Linked DNA regions of Homo sapiens: regions 1, 2, 3, 4, 6 and 7 are each linked to region 5. The links are contacts of gene promoters, found by promoter capture Hi-C in blood cells and fetal thymus (Javierre and others, 2016). All regions are on one chromosome and are shown on one strand. Each heading gives the region's core, a stretch centred on a gene start or on the middle of the fragment in contact. The rest is flanking DNA. Distances are from core to core; before and after follow the strand shown.

Region 1 (2,700 bases), core at 135-2,634, 1.5 Mb after region 5:
CATAATGGGGGAGATGTTTAGGCCCTGGATAATGGCAGTGGGTGATGGGAACAGGGTATGGGTGATGGGAACAGGTGGAGAAGGAACCAGCACAAGCAAAGGCGGGAAGCAGAAAAAGGCAAGGAGGGTTGGGGAGAGGTGGGGTGGGGGTTCTTGCCCATGGTGGAAGGCAGGAGGACCAGGATCTGGAGGGCTGTTCTCTCAGGCTTGGGTAGGTCATGAACACTTGTTTGGTCTCAGTCAGTGCACCAGGAGAGCCAGAGCTTCTGAGGAGAGTGATGTATCTGGGATTCTGCAGCTCAGAAAATGATACCCCAAAGTATAGCACTTTGGTGTGCTGAGTACTTTGAACTAAAGGACATTGGAAGACCTCAGAAGCAACCTCAGAACCATGGTCTCTTTGACTTCCTGCTTCCTATCTCTCACCCCTCATTTCTCCCTCAAAGCAAGTCATAGAAACATAATTCCTTGTACCCTAGGTGGGTCATAAAAACTGGAACCCCTCTCCCCCAAAGTAAGCCATGAACCCTGGAAATACTACTCTGACCTCCCCATCCCCTTCTGTCTAGGAGGTGGCCAAAAAGAAATTCTCTGACCTACCCTTATCTGATATTAGATCCTAAGGCCCTCATTGCAGAGGGGTCCTGCATCATACCCAGAAGGAAGAAATGCTACAACAGAGAGGCCAAGAAGAATCTGAACAGACAGGCCTTGCTGGGTTTTCCCATTCAGTCTATTACTACTGGATTATACCCCTTTTGTCCAATACAAAAAGAGTACATGGCTGTCCACTCTTCATCAAACCTAAGCATAAAAACAGTTTCCCCTGGGTCTTGGGGTCTTCATTTTTGAAGTCTCCCATATCACATAAAAGCTTGATTAAATAAATGTGTTATGCTTTTCTCTTGTTAACCTATCTTTTGTTCTAGGAGTGTGGTGGGGAGGAAAGATGTCACTCTTTTTCATCCCTAGGAGGACATGAACCAGGAATGCACTCCAGTCATTGTTGACAGGACAGATGAAGGTGGGGAGAGGAACCCAGGATCAAGTATTTCAGGGGAGAAGCAGTGAGGGACCCATATTAGGGATAGGGAGTGGTCACAGGAAGGAAGGGAAGAACAAGAGAGGTGCTTTAAGGAGCTGCCACACTAGGCAGGGCTGCATAAAGCTCACAGAGGAGGTGAGGGCATAAAGATGGTTGTGGGTGTGGGGACGAGGGAGGACAAATACACACAACACAGCTCAGCAGTGGCAGAGGGAGAGGGGGGTGCCAAAGGGAAGATCACGTGTTGAGTTAAGCCTGTTGTACATGAGGTGACAGAGCAATGACTGCAAAGGCTGGCACGCTCTGTCTCCCTCAACCACTGCCACCCTCCAATGACTAATTGTTACCCCCTTCAAGAGTCCAGCAGCTGCTGCTGGCTGAGAAGGGAGGGAGGTTTTGGCTGGGGCCAGAGCTGATGAAACAGTGACTGCCAGTTTTGAGGCTGGGAGATGCTGATGCCACAAGGGATAAGGGGAGCTACAGAAGGGACAGGAGGGGAGAATGAGGAAGAAGAGAAAGGAGGAAGGAGGAGAGGAGAGAATGTTGCAGGGAGAGGAAGGGAAACAGAGGGGAGAGGTGAAGAGGAAGGGATGAGGGGGTAGAGGAGGAGAGAAGATGGGAAAGGAGGGGAAAGGGTAGGAGGAAAGGGAAGTGAAGAGGAAGGCAGAGGGAAGAGGAAGGGAGAGGAGAGAAAGAGAGAGGAGAAAAGAGCAGAGGAGGGGGAAAGAATGGGAGAGAGGAAAGCAGGGAAGAGGATAAGGCAAAGGAAGAAGAAAGAAGAGGAGAGGGAAGAGGAGGGAGAAAGACTGGAACAAGTAAGAAGAGGGGAGAGAGATAGGAGAAGCTTGGAAAGAACACCTGCTCCTCACCAGCAAGAGATGAAAAGAGGAACAGGTGGGAGCTATGTCTTGCCTACCCAGGGTTCACAGACCACAGTCAGAGCAATAGCAGCTGAGACAGACCCCAGGGGCTTTCTGTAGCCTCTGTTGTTTTTTTCTCCAATGCAAAGGAAGATTCATTTTAGAACTAGGCAATTAAAGCAGAGCTAGTGCACCCACAGGAGGCTCATCCTGGGCCCTCAACTGGTCTTCAAGGCAAGGAATAGATCCAGGTTGTAGGCTTAATCCTTTGTTAAGCACCTCCTCTGTCCCTATTTGAGCTGTTTCCAGGACTAGGATGTAGGTGCCCATTCAGACCAGGTGAAATACTCAAAGTCCCATATTTGGTAAGTAGCAGAGGCAGAATTTGAACACAGGGGTTCTCTCTCCAGAGCCCTAAGGCCCTCCACACAGGAGGCGGCCCCTGACAGGGACAGGGCTATCCTTCCCCCAGCAATCTCCAGAGCCCTGGCATCTTCAGAGACCTCTAATCCCATTTCTTCCCAATCATTTGAAACCAGGAGTGTTAGATAGTTTTTGCATTGCTATAAGTACCTGGGACTGGGTAATTTATAAAGAAAAGAGGTTTAATTGACTCACAGTTGTGCAGGCTGTACGAGTATGGCTCTGGCATCTACCTCCAATAAGGGCCTCAGGAAGGTTATAATCATTGCACAAGGCAAAGGGGGAGCCAGTGATGTCACATGGCAAGAAAGAGAGCAAGAAACAGTCAGGTGGAGGTTCTGGGCTCTTTTAAACAACCAGATCTCACAAAAA
Region 2 (2,700 bases), core at 100-2,599, 1.4 Mb after region 5:
ATCGTGGTGCTCAGCAGGCAGCCCCTGCAGGTCTCCTCATGGATCCCAGTATCCTAGAAAGAGAAGGAGCTTCCAAAACCTTGGCCATGATGAATAGCATGTCAGTCACTGCTTCACAAATCTCCAACTCTTAAAAAAAAGGCTTTCATTATTGTTCAACATTGACAAGGAAACCCATCTTTATCTAAGCTCTGGGCATCATGATTACCATTACCTAGTGCCTCCTATATGCCAGCCCTATGCATTTTCTGTATATTTTCTCAAATCCTCAGAACAACCTGGTGAAGTAGGTGCTTTGTTTATCTAATGCCATGTAACCAGCCCAAAACTTAATAGGTTAAAACAACAACCTTATATTCTCATGATTCTGTTGGTTAATTGTGCAGTTCAGCTGCCTGTGGCTGTGTTCAGCTGAAAGCTCAGTTGGGGCGCCTCAGCTCTTCTCCAAGTGGCTTCTTTCCCATCCTCCAGGGCTTCTCCTTGTGCCCTTTCTCTTTGGCAGAATATCCTGGACTGCCTTAACATATAGCAGCTGGGTTTCAAGAGGGGAAGATTCCAAGAGGACAAGCCCCCAGCATACAAGTGTTTATAAAGGCACTACTTCCATCATGCTTGTTCATGTCTCACTAGCCAGAGCTAGTCACGTGGCCAAACCAAGCCGATGTAGGAAGAGACTTCACAGGGGTTTGAATATCATGAGACTCGGGAGTCACCAGTGGAAGAGTCTACCACAGTAGGTATCGTTTAGCCTTCTTTTGCAGTTGAGGGCACAGAGACTCAGAGAGGTTAATCCAGTTGCCCAATGTCATCCAACATAGTCAGGAACAGAGGACCCAGCTCTCTCTGATACCATGTTCTTTGCTGCCCATACTAAGTCAACCTGATATAGGTTGAGGTGGTATAGTAGGAGGCGGGCAGGGACCAGGAGCCAAGTATAAATGGCCAGTAAGCTTCCAGGATTCTTTAACCCAGAGTACAACCTGACCAATTCCCTGGCCCACCTGCCCGCCTGGATGGTTCTACCCAACAGCACAGGCAGCAAAGACAGGCACTGAAAACATGCTCCAGGCCACAGTCTGGGTTTTTCAGTCTGATATTCTGGCCCCATCTCCCCACCACCCCCCAACAACCTTGTTCCTCCTCTCCTTAACTCCAGGATAGTCTTCTACAACACTGGCTTGTTGTCATTTCTCCCTCATCACCTCCTACCCCTTTCATCCTTTTTCACTCTGCCTAGAATGCCCCTCCCATTTTTAGAAACTCCTTTGAGGCCATGACAGCCTGGGCACTTCTCTGTGGGGACCTCTACAGGCAGAAATCTTTAAGACCTCTTTCTGACTCCCAGCACCCATACCCCCACAATGGTTGGAATGAACTTAAGGGTGTTCCTCCAGGAGTCTGCTCGGAGTCTTAGCACAATGTCCATGTGTTTTTCTGCAGCCCCCAATGATTTTAGCCACCATCTCGTGGGCACCTGGCAGGTGCCCTGCCCTAGACTGGGAAACAAGTGGGCACCAAGTCATGCAAAGCCCGTGCTCCAGCCCAGATTCTTTCTCTCATTTACTAGGTGACCAGAGAAAGTCATGGAACCTCTCTGAGCTCAGCCACCCCTCTACATCCAATACAGACAAGAATAATCTCTGCTTTGTCCAACTCCTAGCACTTTAGGAGGCCAAGGCAGGTGGATCACCTGAGGTCAAAGAAAATAATCTCTGCTTTGTCCAGTATCAGAGTCAACAGAAGCTTGGGGTTAAGAAAGGCTTTCTGGGAGACTGATGCAGTATGCATGTGATAGGGATCCTTCCCTTTAAGAAGCCTGGTTTGTAGGGCTCTCAGAAAGGCTCCTCTACACCCCAACAGACTTCTGCTCTCTCTATCCCTCAATCTGTCAAGCTGCCTGAAATTCTGCCATCTGTCATTCTTTTGGGCTAAGGTATTATTATTGTTTATATCCAGATGGCCCCTGTTAAAAGATGCCAGCGATCTGGAAATGGTAACACAGTAGCCCCAGGAGCAAAAGCATGCTTTACCATTAATAAACATCTCTCTCATGGTCATTCTCTGACCCTGGTGTTGGAAGGTAAATAGGTGTGAGCTTTCTGGAGATAAAGTTGGCAATACTCATCAAAAGCTTTACAAATATGCACACTCTTTGATGCAACAATTCCTCCTCTGGAAATTTCTTCTAAGGGAACAATGTGTTCAAAACTATGTATACAAAGAAGTCTTATTTATAGTAGCACAGAATTATAAATAAATAACTTAAATGTCCAAAATAGGTAATTGGCTAAATAACAGTATGTATGTACAATCAAATACTATCAGGGACTGTTTTGTGGGCCTGTGACAAAGGCAGTCCATCAGGGCCCCAGGCTCAGAAAGCCCCTCACTTGGTTTAATGCTCTGCTGTCACCAGCTTAAAAATCTTAATGATTTTGAGCAAAGAATCCCTCATTTTCATTTTGTGGTGGACCACACACACACTATGTAGCTACTTCCTAGAATATTACGTAGCAATTAAAATAATGCTTATGGAGAATATTTGTTGAAATGGGAAGTTGCTTCAATTAAATGAAGAAATGAGGATATGAAACCATAAATGATGCAATCCTAATTTTGTATAAAACAGAAACATGTAGATAGATAGATAGATATAAAAAAAAAAGAGTGGATGGAAATTTACCATACATTGTAACATAT
Region 3 (2,700 bases), core at 178-2,677, 1.5 Mb before region 5:
TAAGCCCCGCCCCTCGGACGGCCTCGGATCCTGCCGCTCTAGGCCCGCCGGGCGCTCTCTATGGTCGGCCGGGCGGTGTGTTGTCATCCGCGGAGCGACGACCGGAGGCTGCGGCGGAGCCCCGGCGGGGCGTTTGGTTTCGGTTTGGCCCTGACTGGGATTAGTGTTGACGATCGAAATGGGAGTCCCCAAGTTTTACAGATGGATCTCAGAGCGGTATCCCTGTCTCAGCGAAGTGGTGAAAGAGCATCAGGTGGGTGAGCGAGGGGCAACGGCTCAGAAAGCCGAGGACCCGGGGCTCCGCGGCCCTCTCCACCTTAGAGCTGGGGCTTTCGAGCCACCTCTTTCCCCTCGTCGTCTGGACGATTAGTGGCATTAGGGAGGGGGACGGAAGGTTTGAGGACGCCCGGATGAGCCGAAAGGGGCTAAGGACGCAGGTTGCCTGTGTGTGGACAGAGCCGCTGGGTTCACGGCTTCTCTGACAGCTCTTGCTTCTGCTGGTCCTTCCGCGACTCCGAAATGAAGTCCTGGGAAAGAACGCTTTTACTGTTCTCCGGTTTCCTCCCGGGGAGCTGCAAGTTGCCTTTTTCCTTACAGAGGCTGCGAAGCTGGAGTGGGTGTCCTCGTAGGTTCCCCCATCCCACCCAGAGCGGCAGACCCACTTACAGACGATAACAGCCGCTTCCGCACGCAGTCACCTTGTTTACTTTCCCTGATCTAGAGCGCGGCCCACCCGGCCCCCGGAGCCTAGACTTTCCGACGTGGCTGATGGTCATATTGGTGATGCCTTTTGTTACTTTCTGTTATTTCAAAAGCAGCACCAATCCCCTGTTGCCAAAACAAAAAACTCTTGGGCCAGCTGGGGAGTGGGGCGTAGGACCTTTTATTTGGAGGCCTCACTGTGTGACAGAGGGGGTTGGGAAACGAATTGATAGAACATTAATACTACTAATAATATTTGGCATGTACTGACCCCAGGACAACGTTAATGTGTAGATTCCGAAAACGTAGTTTATATATTGGAACTGTGGAAAGAGAGGAGAAAGCAGTCGTCTATTAGGTAAACTAGACTTTGGGTGATACTTTGGTGTTTGTCACATTTAATGAATTTGATCTCTTTTCTGATGCTTTACAGAAAAAAAGCTTGAAATTTGTGTAGCTGATTGAATCAGTTGTGATGGGTAGTATTGTAAATAGCCTATTAAATTATGGTTTAATCGGCATTTACGAACATGAAGGTAGTTTACTTCTGGAAAGGAGTTTTTGTTGCTGGATTCCAATCAGATTTGGTAGATGAGAAATAGACTACAAAAAGTTTCCAAGGTTAGCTTATCTTGAATTTATTTGAAACATAGATTGAGTTAGGTTTAGAGAGGTATTTTTTTCCCCCGGGGAGGGCTAAAAAGGAAACCAGTACATTGCAGAAATGGAGACAACCAACTTTGGCTTTTCTTGCATCCTTCAGTCAGTACCTGCTATATATCAGTCACTTTATCTCTAAAGTGCAAAAATAATGCGATTGTTATTCGTGATGATTTAATACATAATTTGTTCAGTAATATTTTTATTCTGTAGTCTGTGGCACAGAATTTGGTTTGGTGAAAATATCTTAGATTCTCTCCATCCTGAGGAATTTTGTTACTGAAGAATGAAAATCTCTTTAATGCAGTTTTATGACATGGACACTAAGGATAGGTTTTGTGAAAGCTTTATATAGAAACTGGGAGGAGAATTATTTTTAAATTTCACTGTAAATAAATTTTAAAATTTGGTTCATTGTTGTGATACCTTTCAAAAATGTTTGATTAAAAAGAGACCAAAGGTTATCAGCTTCTCTGTTAAGTAGAACTTAAAGATGGTAATGCCTAAATAAGTCACAGGCATTCAAAAGCTAGTCCTGGGCGGGAAGGATAGGGAGAAGAAGTAAGTTACGGGAAGTCAGTGGTGTGGCCTCAGTAGCATAGGTTTTCAGTTTCTCTGAATCATCTTGTAAAAACAGAAAGAGAAACTAGAAACCAAAGTTTAAAATCCATAAAACAATTACAACAAACCATGTGACATGCTATCCCCATGAAACTCAAAACATAACTAGGTGAGGCAAACTATCAATAGTCTCTAGACACCGTTGATATTGCCATCTGTGCAAAAGCGAGAAGGAAGCAATGGGGCAACATCTGATGAACCTTAGAACAGAATTCCAGAATAGCCAGCGGTATCCACTAAAAGACTGTGCTGGCCAATTAGATAGCGGTAGCTGAAACAGAGGAGTTTTATTCACTCCATTATTGACTGGGTGAAGGTCTACCATAAGAAAGACCAAACAGGCAGGAGTAGTCTACCTCCTGTGAACACTCAAAACTGACTTGCCAAGGTGCCATTCTAGACCAGAGCCCTAAGGAAAAGGGAGTGGAATAAAGTCTTACGGAAATGTTATGCTGGAAGTGGAATAAAATTTTATGAAAGGGACAATAGAGACAAGAAGAGAAGGAGATAGACCATATAAAAGTGAGGCAAAGTCATAGAATCAAGAAATCTTAGAAAACAAACCACAAAGCAAACCACTGTATTTTTTAACACTACCCAGAAACAGCTTTGTGAACTTATATTCCCTGAACCTCTACTCATTCTAAAAGTTCAAGAAAATTAAATTCACATAAAAATGAGCTACAGAAAGGTATTGAGATCAAATTACATACAAAG
Region 4 (2,700 bases), core at 18-2,517, 1.6 Mb before region 5:
TTGGCTCTGTTGCTCAGGCTGGAATGTAGTGGCGAGATTGTGGCTTACTGTAACCCTGGCTTCCTTGGCTCAAGCCATCCTCCTACCTCAGCCTCTCAAGTAGCTGGGACTACAAGTGTTAGCCACTATGCCCCGCTGAAACTAACTTCATCTTCCTCATTTTTGTGTCTGTCACAGAAGTACCTAACCCAATATCTTGCCCAAAATGACTTTTTGAATTAAATGGGATTTCTGAGGCTCTATTATTTATAAGGCTTGCAAATTTATACTGCTTTTTAGAATTACCATGCTATTTAGCTATTGCCTTCCAGATAGCATTCTAATTTTTATAATCTTTCTTCATATGTTCTAAAAATAGCTAAAATTTGGTATTTTTAAACTATTTTTCAGATGTGTTATTTAAGCTTAAAAGTATACTTATTTTAGTTTTTAAATGCATCAGTTATTTAATTAGGTTCTTGGTAAGACATTTAGAACACCTATTTGCTAGGATAAACTCCATTCATCAGAGCAAACACAGATTACAGGTAGCCCTGGAGCTAAGGAATAGCTTTGATTTTTGGTAACATTTACGAGTCCACAACTTTCTAATTTTTTTTTTTTTTTTTTGAGATGGAGTCTTGCTCTGTCACCCAGGCTAGAGTGCAGTGGTGCGATCTCTGCTCACTGCAAACTCTGCTTCCCGGGATCAAGTGGTTCTCCTGCCTCAGCCTCCCCAGCAGCTGGGATTACAGATGCCCGCCACCACGCCAGGCTAATTTTTGTATTTTTAGTAGAGATGGGGTTTCACCATGTTGGCAGGCTGGTGTCGAACTCCTGACCTCAAGTGATCCACCCGCCTCAGGCTCCCAAAGTGCTGGGGTAACAGGAGTGAGCTAGCGTGCTTGGCCACGAGTCCACAGCTTTCTGATCAACCTTGCATTGCTCCATAATCTTCTATTACTCTCTTTCTGTGTTGACGATGTCACTTTCCCAGTATTTGGGCTTCCATAGCATCATCTTCTTAAGCAAGCATTGGTAAGATGTTTTGGAATTTTCACATTGCTGATTTCAATTTTGTGATGACCTCTGGTGTGTTTCCCACAGAATGTGAATGAGGACCAGAGGTCCAGTCACAATTAACAAGCCACTCCTCAGCTGCTCCAGTAAAACCACCCTCTTGCCTTTGTGGTGCCCAGTGAGGATAAGCAGAATGATCCCAGGAGAGAAGCTAGTTTGCAGTTTTCTCTGTGCTGACTGAAGTGTTTCTGTTTGTTTTTTCTGTGGCTCAACAGCAGCTTTCCAGGCACATCTTTGGAAGGATCTAGGCATTTTGTAGGGTTTACTTTGCAAAAAGTATCACCATTCTTGTTGCCACCAACTGGTTTTGTAGCAATGGCAAGAACCTTTTCCTTTTTCAAGTCTGGACTTTCTTCTTTTTAATTCTGGATTTAGTACCCGAGTACTTCCTCTTGTACCTGGCCTTTTTGACATAGCAGATTGAGAATATCTGCCAATTCCTCTGATAAGGACAGGATTTCCGCTGCAGGGGGGCTTCCCTTTCTTTGGCTTTTTAGCCTTGAGGTGTTTTTGTTTGTGTTTTTTGACGGAGTTTCGCTCTTGTTGCCCAAGCTGGAATGCAATGATGCAATCTCGGCTCACTGCAACCTCCGCCTCTCGGGGTCAAGCGATTCTCCTGCCTCAGCCTTCCGAATAGCTGAGATTACGGGCGCCCACCAGCACACCCAGCTAATTTTTTGTATTTTTAGTAGAAATGGAGTTTCACCATGTTAGCCAGGCTGGTCTTGAATTCCTGACCTCAGGTGATCCGCCTGCCTCAGCCTCCCAAAGTGCTGGGATTACAGGCGTGAGCCACCGTGCCCAACCGAAGTTATGTTTTAACCTTGCCACTAGCATCAGCCTTCTTGGCTTCACGTTTCTTCTCCTTGGTGTCTGGCTTCTCAACTTTTTCCCCCACCATCTTACAAGACGGGAAGGAGCTATTTTTTTTAATACATGTTGGAATATCCTGGCTATGCAGATACAAATAGTAATATAACATCCACCCAAATATAACATTAAATTTTGATTAAATAATAATTAATTCAAATCCTACTAAAAGAAAACCCTTAGGGATACATTGAAGCTTCATCATTTCATTCCCTTCTCTCCCTTCCACAGGTGCAACTATCCTGGAGTTGATATCTATCTTTGCCAAACATGTTTTCATACTTTTATCAAACATATTTGTATACATAACTCACACAACGCATTGTTTTGTGGTTTTAAGATTGTATATAAATGATATGACACTATTATGTATACCTTTGAATTTGCTTTTTCAATCAATGTAGTTTTCAGGATTCATCGTTGGTATAGGTAGTATAATTCATTCATTTTAACTATGAAATTATATTCCACTTTATGACTTTACCCCCTCTTATTTAATCTTTGCTGTAATCTTGTGAGGTAGACATTATTAATCCCATTTTATAAATGAAAAAATGGAAGTATTAAGAGATTAAGTAACTTTACTGAGGTCATATAGTTTCTAGCAGATGGAATGAGAACTTGTGTAGGGCCTGTAACTCCCAATCCCATGTCCTTTCTCCTAAAACATTCAGTGATTCATTCAACAAATGTTTACTGAACACCACCTATGTGCCAGGCACAGTTTTAGGTCCTGGGTATCTGAGAGTGAACAAAATAGACAAGACCTTG
Region 5 (2,700 bases), core at 61-2,560:
CCTCCAAATAAGTAACTCTTAAAATTGCTATGATTCTCCAAATGATTTAGAAGGAGCAAATCTAAACAGGAGGCTAAACTGGAAGCTCTAACACTCATTTTGGCAATCAGGGAACTAAGACTTTAGGCTTAGTCCTAATCTTGCACACACATAGTAACTATTAACACTATCTTCAAAAAATCTGACCTCTCTCCACTCCTACTTTCTCCTAAGCAGCAGAAAAGCAAGCGGTGTTCAAGAGGGGTGGTTTTCTCGAAAGGAATCTGACCCCAAAGGTACTGGAAAGCTTTGCACCCCATTCACCACCTGGAAAACCTCGGGCAAGAAATTTTCCAAGGGCTAGAAACACCCTACAGCAACCACGGGAGAATACCAAAGCCTTCCCCGCTCGATCCCGTAGCCCCCTTACCACCCACCTTGCAAAGCCGAGCCCGGAAATGAGCGGCCCGAGGTCCGAGGTGGGGCGTGAGTGACGTGCAGAGGCCCAAGCGAGCGCTGCAAGGAGCGAGGGCTAAAGGAGTCTCCGGCGCCCATTTTGTCCTCAGCCTCCGCACTTTCCGCCCCGTCCCCTTGGGCCATGCAACCTACGCGAAATCCGAAGCCAGGCTCCTCAAAGCGGCCCTGGATCCCCGACGCCTGCTAGATTGCGGCGTGCGGCCAGGTCCAGCGGCGTCCGGGTAATCAAGCGCCGACCCCAGCTCTTGCCCGCGTCTCCTCAGACGCATGGATTCGGCCTCCGCCTCACCCCGGCCCCGCGGGCCCAAAACCTCACTCCCGGCCCGGGTTTCATGCCTCAACCCTCTTTGCCCGGGCCTCACTCTCTCGCCCTCGGGCCCGGGCCTCACCCCCTTGCTTCCCCGAACCGGAGCCCCCCTCACCACCCACGGGCTGGGTCGCTCCCCTCACCCGCAGGCCCGTGGCAGCTCCCCGCCCAGGCCTCACTCCCGCCCCCCCACCCCCCCACCCCCCTCGGCCCCCCTCGCCCCCCTCGCCTGCGTCTTCGGCCCCAGCACCCTCAGCCCCAGTGCGCACGCCCCGCCAGGACCTTACCCTCCGGCAAACAGATGCACCAGCGTGTCCCTCTGGCTCATTCTCTCTCCCGCATGTCCTCCGGCCGCTGAGGCGGGACGCGGATCTGGCCGCCCGCTACGGCAGGCGGCTTCGGTCCCGGACTGGAGACGCACAGCGCCCCGGGGACGGCGAGGAGAGCTGGCCGAGATGCGGCTGCAGAAAGCAACCGGCACAGCCCTCCCCGCGGCACTCCAGCCGCGCCACCGCCTGCCTAAGCGCGCCGCCCTTCACCAGAGGCTGAAAGCGACGCAGCGCAGCGCGACGGAGAGTGGGCGGGGGATGGTAGGGGGAAGATGACTATTTGATGGCTCCCGACATAAACAGAGGCTCCCATTGGTGTGAGCGTCGTGACGTCACGCACTCTGCAGTGTTCTTTCACGTGATCCCTACGGGCTCTTTCAATGAAAGGGGCCGCGAGGCGTGGCCAGAACGCGTGCCCGGAGGGTGGTAGGTCACCGCGCTCCTAGCACCTGAGACCTGGGGCGCCCCTGGCCTGAGTGAACGCGCCAATCACGGCTGCACTCTCCTGAACAGGGAACTGGCGGGGCGGGAAAAATCGACTTGGTTCCGGGTTCGCAAGCGGATTTACTTTGAAAAAATTGGATTTATGACCCAGCAGTTCCCTTGGTGTCTATCTCAGAGTAACCCTCGCACAATGCATAAAAAGGTTTGTGCACGGATACTCCTATATAGGCTCACAAACAGTACAGAATTATGAACAATGCTTGCAGTTGCAGAAAATTGAAATCAGTGGGGGAATGAAGAAATAAATCATGAAACATTCCTACTATGGAATATTATGCAATCGTGACAAGGGATGAGGTGATTCCATATGGCAAAAAATCTCCCGAAGTGTGTAATAAGTAAAAAAGGCAAGTAGAATTAAAATACTTGGGTTTGTTTTTAAAAGAATAAAAGTTCATGGGAAATGGAATTAAAAGATAAAATTTAAAAATATAAACTTTGTTTTTCAACGTAAGCTCCATCAAGTTAAAGACAGTTTGGTAAGTGATGATACCGGCTCTTTAGTCCATCTGTAAAGAATTGAGGGTTCTGGGAATTTAATCATGAAAATGCAGGCTTTTTTACGTTATTAACTGAAGAAAAATGGGTGCCATTTACAGATTTTTCACGATTAGAAAACAAAAATATGTCAGAAGGAGCCAGGTCAGGAATGTAAGATGGATACCTGATAGTTTCCCATCGAAATCCCTGGAAAAATGCCCTTATTTAAAGAGAGGAATGAGCAGGAACATTGTCCTGATGGAGAAGGACTCTCTGGTGAAGATTTCGTAGGTGTTTTTATGCTAAAGCTTTGCTTCACTTTCTCCTATAGTAAGCGGATGTTATTGCTCTTCCACCCTCCAGAAAGTCAACAGGCAAAATACCTTGAGCATCCCAAAAAGCTGCTGCTATGACTTCGGCTCTTGACCAGTCTACTTTTGATTTGACTGGACCACTTGCACCTCTTGGTAACTATTGCTTTGATCCAGAATCATACTGAGAAAGCTATGTTTGATCTCCTGTTACAATTCTTCAAAGAAATGTTTCAATATATGATCCCACTTGTTTACAATTTCCATTGAAAGCCCTGCTCTTGTCTGCAGCTCATCTGGGTGCAACAGTTTT
Region 6 (2,700 bases), core at 135-2,634, 1.8 Mb before region 5:
TCTGGGAGCAATAAATCTTTCTCTCCAATAAAAAGCACTAACAATCAAAGGCGTTCCGTAAATCCAGAGAAAGTTTTGGCAACTAAGGCAGAATTTCTTCCGTCCCGTCCTTACTTCATGTATCTCCACCTAGGATATTCCGTTATTAATGCCAGTCAACAGTCACTGGCTAAAGCACTGGTCAGGTGAAGCTAAATAATAGAGGGTCTGGTTTTGTTTTTAAGAAAAACAAAAACCAGGTGATGAGAACCCTCCATACGAGGCATCCTAAGGTAAGGTGACGGAATTTTCCGACTGGAGTGTCGGAAACTAGCCTCTCGACTCCCGGAAGGAATGAACTGCGAGCCAGAGAGAAGACCAGGTCATTCATGCGGTCAGTAGCAAGGGCGGCGCTAAAACGCTGGGGTCGGGGCTCCCAAGGCGCTACCTAAACCCCGGACCCCAAGGCCAGAGCCACCCCCGACGGTGCAGCGCTCCGAGGGCGCAGCCCCAGCTCCACTCTCCCGCCAGCTCCACACTCACAGGGCAGAGGCGGTGAGGAGAAGACCGCCTGAGGCAGCAGGCGAGGCGGGAAGACACTCGGCGCCTGAGACAGAGGGAATGCCCCGATATAAGTTGAGGCGGGGGAGAGGACTAAAGGTCTGGAGGACAGGGGCGTCCAGAGGAGAAAGGGGCCTAACTCTCACCCTTGTCGCACGCCAGCAAGAAAAGCTTCTCATTCAGCGTATTCTCCTCCTTCACCTCCCGCACATCCTTCAGCGCCATCACCTCGTTCGGCGAGGAAGAGGATGGAGAGGAAGGCAGGGAGGAGGAGGAGGCGCCCGAGAGGTCCGTGCTCGGGTACAGGGCCGCCATCATCGCGGCCCATGAAGGGGGCAGGCCAGGAGACGGGGGCGGGGCCCCCACCGGCCCCGACCCCGACCCCGACCCCAGCCACGCCCCAGGGCTGGAAAAAGGATGAGTCGTTCCCACTGCTGCCTCGGCTCGAGGCCCGTTGGCCCCGAAGGGCGTCGCCTCCCCTGAGAACCAGCACTCGCCCTCCACTGACAGCCCCAAGTTGGTGGCGGCGCATGCGCGGCCCCGGGGCCAGCGACCCCTCCCCAGCCGCCGGCGCCCCGGCCGAGCCGGTCCGCGCCCGTCCGGGGACGACAGTGTGGCGCGCGCCAGGGCGGCAGCCGAGCACGGGGCCGTGCCAGGAGTCGCAGGGGCCGCGCCTGGGGCGGCCTAGCCCAGGAAGAGGACGAGAGATCTGTGGGAGAGGAGCTCCAAGAGGCGCTTCTGCGCACGTTGGGCTCCAGGGCTGTGGGAACCGCTGGCCCAGCTGCGCTCCGAGGAGATGTTCGCGACTCTGTCCTCACGTCATCCTCTGCTCCTCTGTAGCGACGACACTAGGGAGGAGCCTGCGGCAAGGGCGGGCTTGGGTGGGCGGGGCCTGCGGCAAGCGGGGCGTGGGTGGGTGGGGCCTGCGGTGGGGACGCACTGGGCTCCTGGAGCCCGCTGCAGCTTCCTTCGCTCTGGTGAGGTGAACCGCAGTCTGAGGAAGACTTCGCTCAATCGTCCCTTTCCACACCCAGGGTACTGGTTTAAGGTAATTAAGCAAATATGGAGCAGTATGTTAATTGAGTCTCTGACGACTTAATGTTTAGTCGAAATCCTTTGTGGAATTGTCCAGCTATTTCATATTCTGGTGCACTATGCTTTAAAGCACAATGGAGAGCCAGACTCGTGGGTTTGTATGTTGTACTCATTTTAGGCTGGAAATGAACTCTCATTTATAAAGGATATATAGATATATAATTATATTATGTTTAAATAATTTATACAAATATATAAATTTTTATTTCCATATTATTTCCATAGGTTTTTGAGGAACAGGTGGTGTTTGGTTACATGAGTAAGTTCTTTAGTGATGATTTGTGAGATTTTGATGTACCCATCATCGAGCAGTATACACTGAACCTAATTTTGTAGTCTTTTATCCCTCTCCCCCTTCCCAACCTTTCCCCGAGTCCCGAAAGTCCATTGTGTCATTCCTATGCCTTTGCATCCTCAAAGCTTAGCTCTCACTTGTGAGTGAGAACATACGATGTTTGGTTTTCCATTCCTGAGTTACTTCATTTAGAATAAGAATAATAGTCTCCAGTCCCATCCAGGTTTCTGCGAATGCCATTTATTCATTCCTTTTTATGGCTGAGTAGTATTCCATCATTATATATATATCACATATATATATACCACATATATATATATATATATATATATCACAGTTTCTTTATCCACTCATTGATTCATGGGCATTTGGGTTGGCTCCACATTTTTGCAATTGCGAATTGTGCTGCTATAAATATGCATGGGCAAGTATCTTTTTCGTGTAATGACTTCTTTTCCTCTGGGTAGATACCCAGTAGTGGGATTACTGGATCAAATGGTAGTTCTACTTTTAGTTCTCTAAGGAATCTCCACACTGTTTTCCATAGTGGTGTACTAGTTTACAGTCCCACCAGTAATGTAGAAGTGTTCCCTTTTCACCGCATCCACACCAACAGCTATTATTTTTTGATTTTTTTGATTATGGCCATTCTTGCGGAAGTAGGGTGGTACATACGGCATAGCAGTTTTGACTTGGAATTCCCTGATCATTAGTGATCTTGAGCATTTTTTCATATGTTTGTTGGCCATTTGTGTATCTTCTTTTGAGAA
Region 7 (2,700 bases), core at 1-2,500, 1.6 Mb after region 5:
TGTAATGTTTTGTTATTAAAGTTTTCCCAAATGCAAATTAGTGGCTCATTTTGTTGAAGTTATTGTCTCTCTCTTATCTTTTTAAAAGATGTATTATGTTAAACTTTGCATAAGTTAAATTGATTACATTGGAGATATTCTTAGCACTCTAATTTGTTTTAAGAAAAATTGTTTTCATATCTTATGTGAGCTCTATTTTGCAAGATAAGAAAAGATGTAAAATAGTATGTAAACTAGTCTGGAAAGCCTAAGAGTACAGACATAGCAGTTATTTGCCAATGTCTGAAACTAACTAAAAATATGTTGGTTTTGAAAGACAGCCCAACCCCCTCATCTTTTGGTGTTGAATAGAGCAGGCAGTCAGAGAAGGACAGTGCTGCCTTGGTGGCACTCACCTTCAGCAGCAGATGCTCTTAGCACATCTGGTCTAAATGTTTGAGCTAAATGAGCTGTTCAGGGAGGCTCAAGTGGGAGAAATGTTAATACCATTTTTGTAATGATATTTTTATAGATCTTTGTATATTGAGGCTCCCAATTGTTTCAGACTGGCATTTACTGGTAAATTAATTTCAGATGTGCAAAATAAATTTTAGCTACGTTAAGATCATCTAAACATGCAGCATTTTGAGTTCTGAAAAGCTACAAGTGAGACATAATATTATTGTGAAATATTTAAAGACGTAGTTTTGTATGCTTTCAAAAAAGTGATATTAAATCACTTGTTAAAATAATTGCAGTCTAATTGCCTTAAAACTCCAGTGAGATGGTTTTACTTTCCCTGTGTAATTATAAGATAAAAGTATAATGGGTTGACGATAATTATTTGCACATCATTAAAATTGATTTGTGTTTAAATTCATTTTGTATACATTAATAATTTCCATTTCCTCACTGTACATTTTGCAATGCCATTCTTATTTTGATAGAGCCAACTTAACAAACACAGCTCTTTTTATAAACATTGTCTGCACAGTTAACAGAATAATGTTGGAAATGTAAATGCTTATTTCTAAAGATATTTTAACTTGGAAACTCTTTTCTTACAGTCAGAACAGAAGTGGAAACAACTTGCTGAACTTGCCATTAGTAAATGTCAGTTTGGCCTAGCCCAGGAGTGCCTGCATCATGCACAGGATTATGGGGGCCTGCTGCTTTTGGCCACTGCCTCTGGAAATGCTAATATGGTGAACAAGCTAGCAGAGGGTGCGGAGAGAGATGGCAAAAATAATGTGGCATTCATGAGCTACTTTTTACAGGGCAAGTGAGTATTAATTTAAAAGATTAATTAATTCTACACTGAGGATGGTTTTTGGAGAGGGAAGTGAAGAATGAACCCTGGAGAGAACTGATGAATGGCCAAATGGTGTTGAATAGACGGGGCAGTCAGAACAGGACAGTGCTGCCTTGGTGGCACTCACCTTCAGCAAGGGATGCCCTTAGCACATCTATCTAAATGTTTGAGCTAAATGAGCTGTTCAGGGAGGCTCAAGTGGGAGAAATGTTAAACACCTTCTTCAACAGCCCTGCCAGTTAATGGTGGAAGCATTTTATTTTATGATTGCAGGAGGCTATTGAGCTGCTCTAGTAGGTACCTGAAGGGCAGGTGATTTTACCCAAATTGGATAACTTTGATCCATTTATGGCAAGAACAAAAGGGGATAAGTATGCCACTTACTTGTAGATTTGAGCCCACTATAAAGCATAAAGATGTCTCATATTTTTAAGTCTAACCGAGTTAGCATAAACCAAATCATTTGGACATTAGTTGGCAGTATTATGAAATAAAACACAAAAGTATTCTTTCCTTTTTTTTTTTTTTTTTTTGAGATGGAATCTCACTCTGTTGCCCAGGCTGGAGTGCAGTGGCATGATCTCGGCTAATTGCAGCCTCTGTCTCCCTCGTTCAAGCCCTTCTCCTGCCTTAGCCTCCCAAGTAGCTGGGATTACAGGCATGCGCCACCACACCCGGCTTGTGTTTTTAATAGAGATGGGGTCTCACCATGTTGGCCAGGCTGGTCTCAAACTCCTGACCTCAAATGATCCGCCTGCCTCGTCCTCCCAAAGTGCTGGGATTATAGGTGTGAGCCACCACGCCCAGCCCGAAAGTATTCTTTAACCTTCTCCTACATACTGATTTTTTTTTTTTTTTACAATCCCATACTTCGCCATATAACTTTGAACGTGCACCCCATTGTATGTATGTGAATGTATTTATGAATTTATATACCTGTAAGAATAGACCCTATTCCTTATCCATAATTCAAAAATCCAAAAATATTCTGAAAACAGTTATAACTGTTTTGATGGCAAGACCTGAGCTGAACTGCTTTAGTATTTTTAGTTGCTTTTATACCAACTTGGTACATTTTTATTGCATTTAACATTCCTATGTAAGTTATTGCAGTATTAATGTTTGTGGCTTTTTCATGCTGAGGATGTAAGGTAATACATAGTATACATACTGTATCACCTTTCGAAAATCCAAAAAATCCTGAATTCTGAAACATATTGTCCACATCATAAAACTTGCACAGAAAAAAAATGAAATTAAAATAGAAGAAAAAATAAGACACCATGGTATTCTGCTGGGCACCACTGGCTTGTCTGGCCCTTCCCATGTTGGAGACACTGCCCTAGATATTTGTCTTGTGGAACTGAATTTCTGCTGGCATATATCCTTATGCCTTTAAAATTTGCTAA

The links. Contacts are between HindIII fragments. The CHiCAGO score rates a contact against its expected background, and 5 or more counts as called.
Region 1: a fragment that was not itself captured here is called in contact with the fragment with the promoter of SLC25A36 in region 5 in 1 of 17 cell types (M2 macrophages); the score reaches 5.5 in M2 macrophages.
Region 2: a contact is called between a fragment that was not itself captured here and the fragment with the promoter of SLC25A36 in region 5, in 1 of 17 cell types (M0 macrophages). The highest score is 5.2, in M0 macrophages.
Region 3: a fragment that was not itself captured here is called in contact with the fragment with the promoter of SLC25A36 in region 5 in 3 of 17 cell types (fetal thymus, total CD4 T cells and non-activated CD4 T cells); the score reaches 6.8 in fetal thymus.
Region 4: a contact is called between a fragment that was not itself captured here and the fragment with the promoter of SLC25A36 in region 5, in 1 of 17 cell types (non-activated CD4 T cells). The highest score is 5.6, in non-activated CD4 T cells.
Region 6: the fragment with the promoter of TRPC1 here is called in contact with the fragment with the promoter of SLC25A36 in region 5 in 1 of 17 cell types (fetal thymus); the score reaches 8.7 in fetal thymus.
Region 7: a contact is called between a fragment that was not itself captured here and the fragment with the promoter of SLC25A36 in region 5, in 1 of 17 cell types (naive B cells). The highest score is 5.3, in naive B cells.

Annotation. Positions count from the first base shown.
Region 1 is chr3:139,446,955-139,449,654 of GRCh38, reverse strand. The region is part of intron 3 of COPB2-DT (COPB2 divergent transcript); the gene reads right to left. Among named protein-coding and RNA genes, the nearest start is that of RBP2, 28 kb to the left of the region's middle. The HindIII fragment of the contact is 1,015 bases long and covers 877-1,891 here.
Region 2 is chr3:139,521,234-139,523,933 of GRCh38, reverse strand. All of the region lies in intron 2 of RBP1 (retinol binding protein 1), which reads left to right. All of the region lies in intron 3 of COPB2-DT (COPB2 divergent transcript), which reads right to left. Among named protein-coding and RNA genes, the nearest start is that of RBP1, 17 kb to the left of the region's middle. The HindIII fragment of the contact is 793 bases long and covers 953-1,745 here.
Region 3 is chr3:142,445,423-142,448,122 of GRCh38, reverse strand. It overlaps XRN1 (5'-3' exoribonuclease 1), which reads left to right and starts at 86. Exons shown (of 41, transcript NM_001282857.2): 1 at 86-253. The coding sequence starts at 179. RefSeq lists enhancers at 89-368, 1,901-2,260. The HindIII fragment of the contact is 564 bases long and covers 1,146-1,709 here.
Region 4 is chr3:142,580,170-142,582,869 of GRCh38, reverse strand. It overlaps the pseudogene RPL6P9. Among named protein-coding and RNA genes, the nearest start is that of ATR, 2.8 kb to the right of the region's middle. The HindIII fragment of the contact is 1,721 bases long and covers 407-2,127 here.
Region 5 is chr3:140,940,446-140,943,145 of GRCh38, reverse strand. It overlaps SLC25A36 (solute carrier family 25 member 36), which reads right to left and starts at 1,310. Exons shown (of 7, transcript NM_001104647.3): 1 at 1,051-1,310. The coding sequence starts at 1,091. RefSeq lists enhancers at 157-386, 26-873, 967-1,336. The HindIII fragment of the contact is 2,098 bases long and covers 289-2,386 here.
Region 6 is chr3:142,722,718-142,725,417 of GRCh38, reverse strand. It overlaps TRPC1 (transient receptor potential cation channel subfamily C member 1), which reads right to left and starts at 1,384. Exons shown (of 13, transcript NM_001251845.2): 1 at 687-1,384. The coding sequence starts at 858. RefSeq lists an enhancer at 1-832 and a silencer at 1,091-1,140. The HindIII fragment of the contact is 1,344 bases long and covers 714-2,057 here.
Region 7 is chr3:139,359,642-139,362,341 of GRCh38, reverse strand. COPB2 (coat protein complex I subunit beta 2) reads left to right here. Exons shown (of 22, transcript NM_004766.3): 17 at 1,047-1,261. Among named protein-coding and RNA genes, the nearest start is that of MRPS22, 17 kb to the right of the region's middle. The HindIII fragment of the contact is 4,235 bases long and covers 1-2,700 here.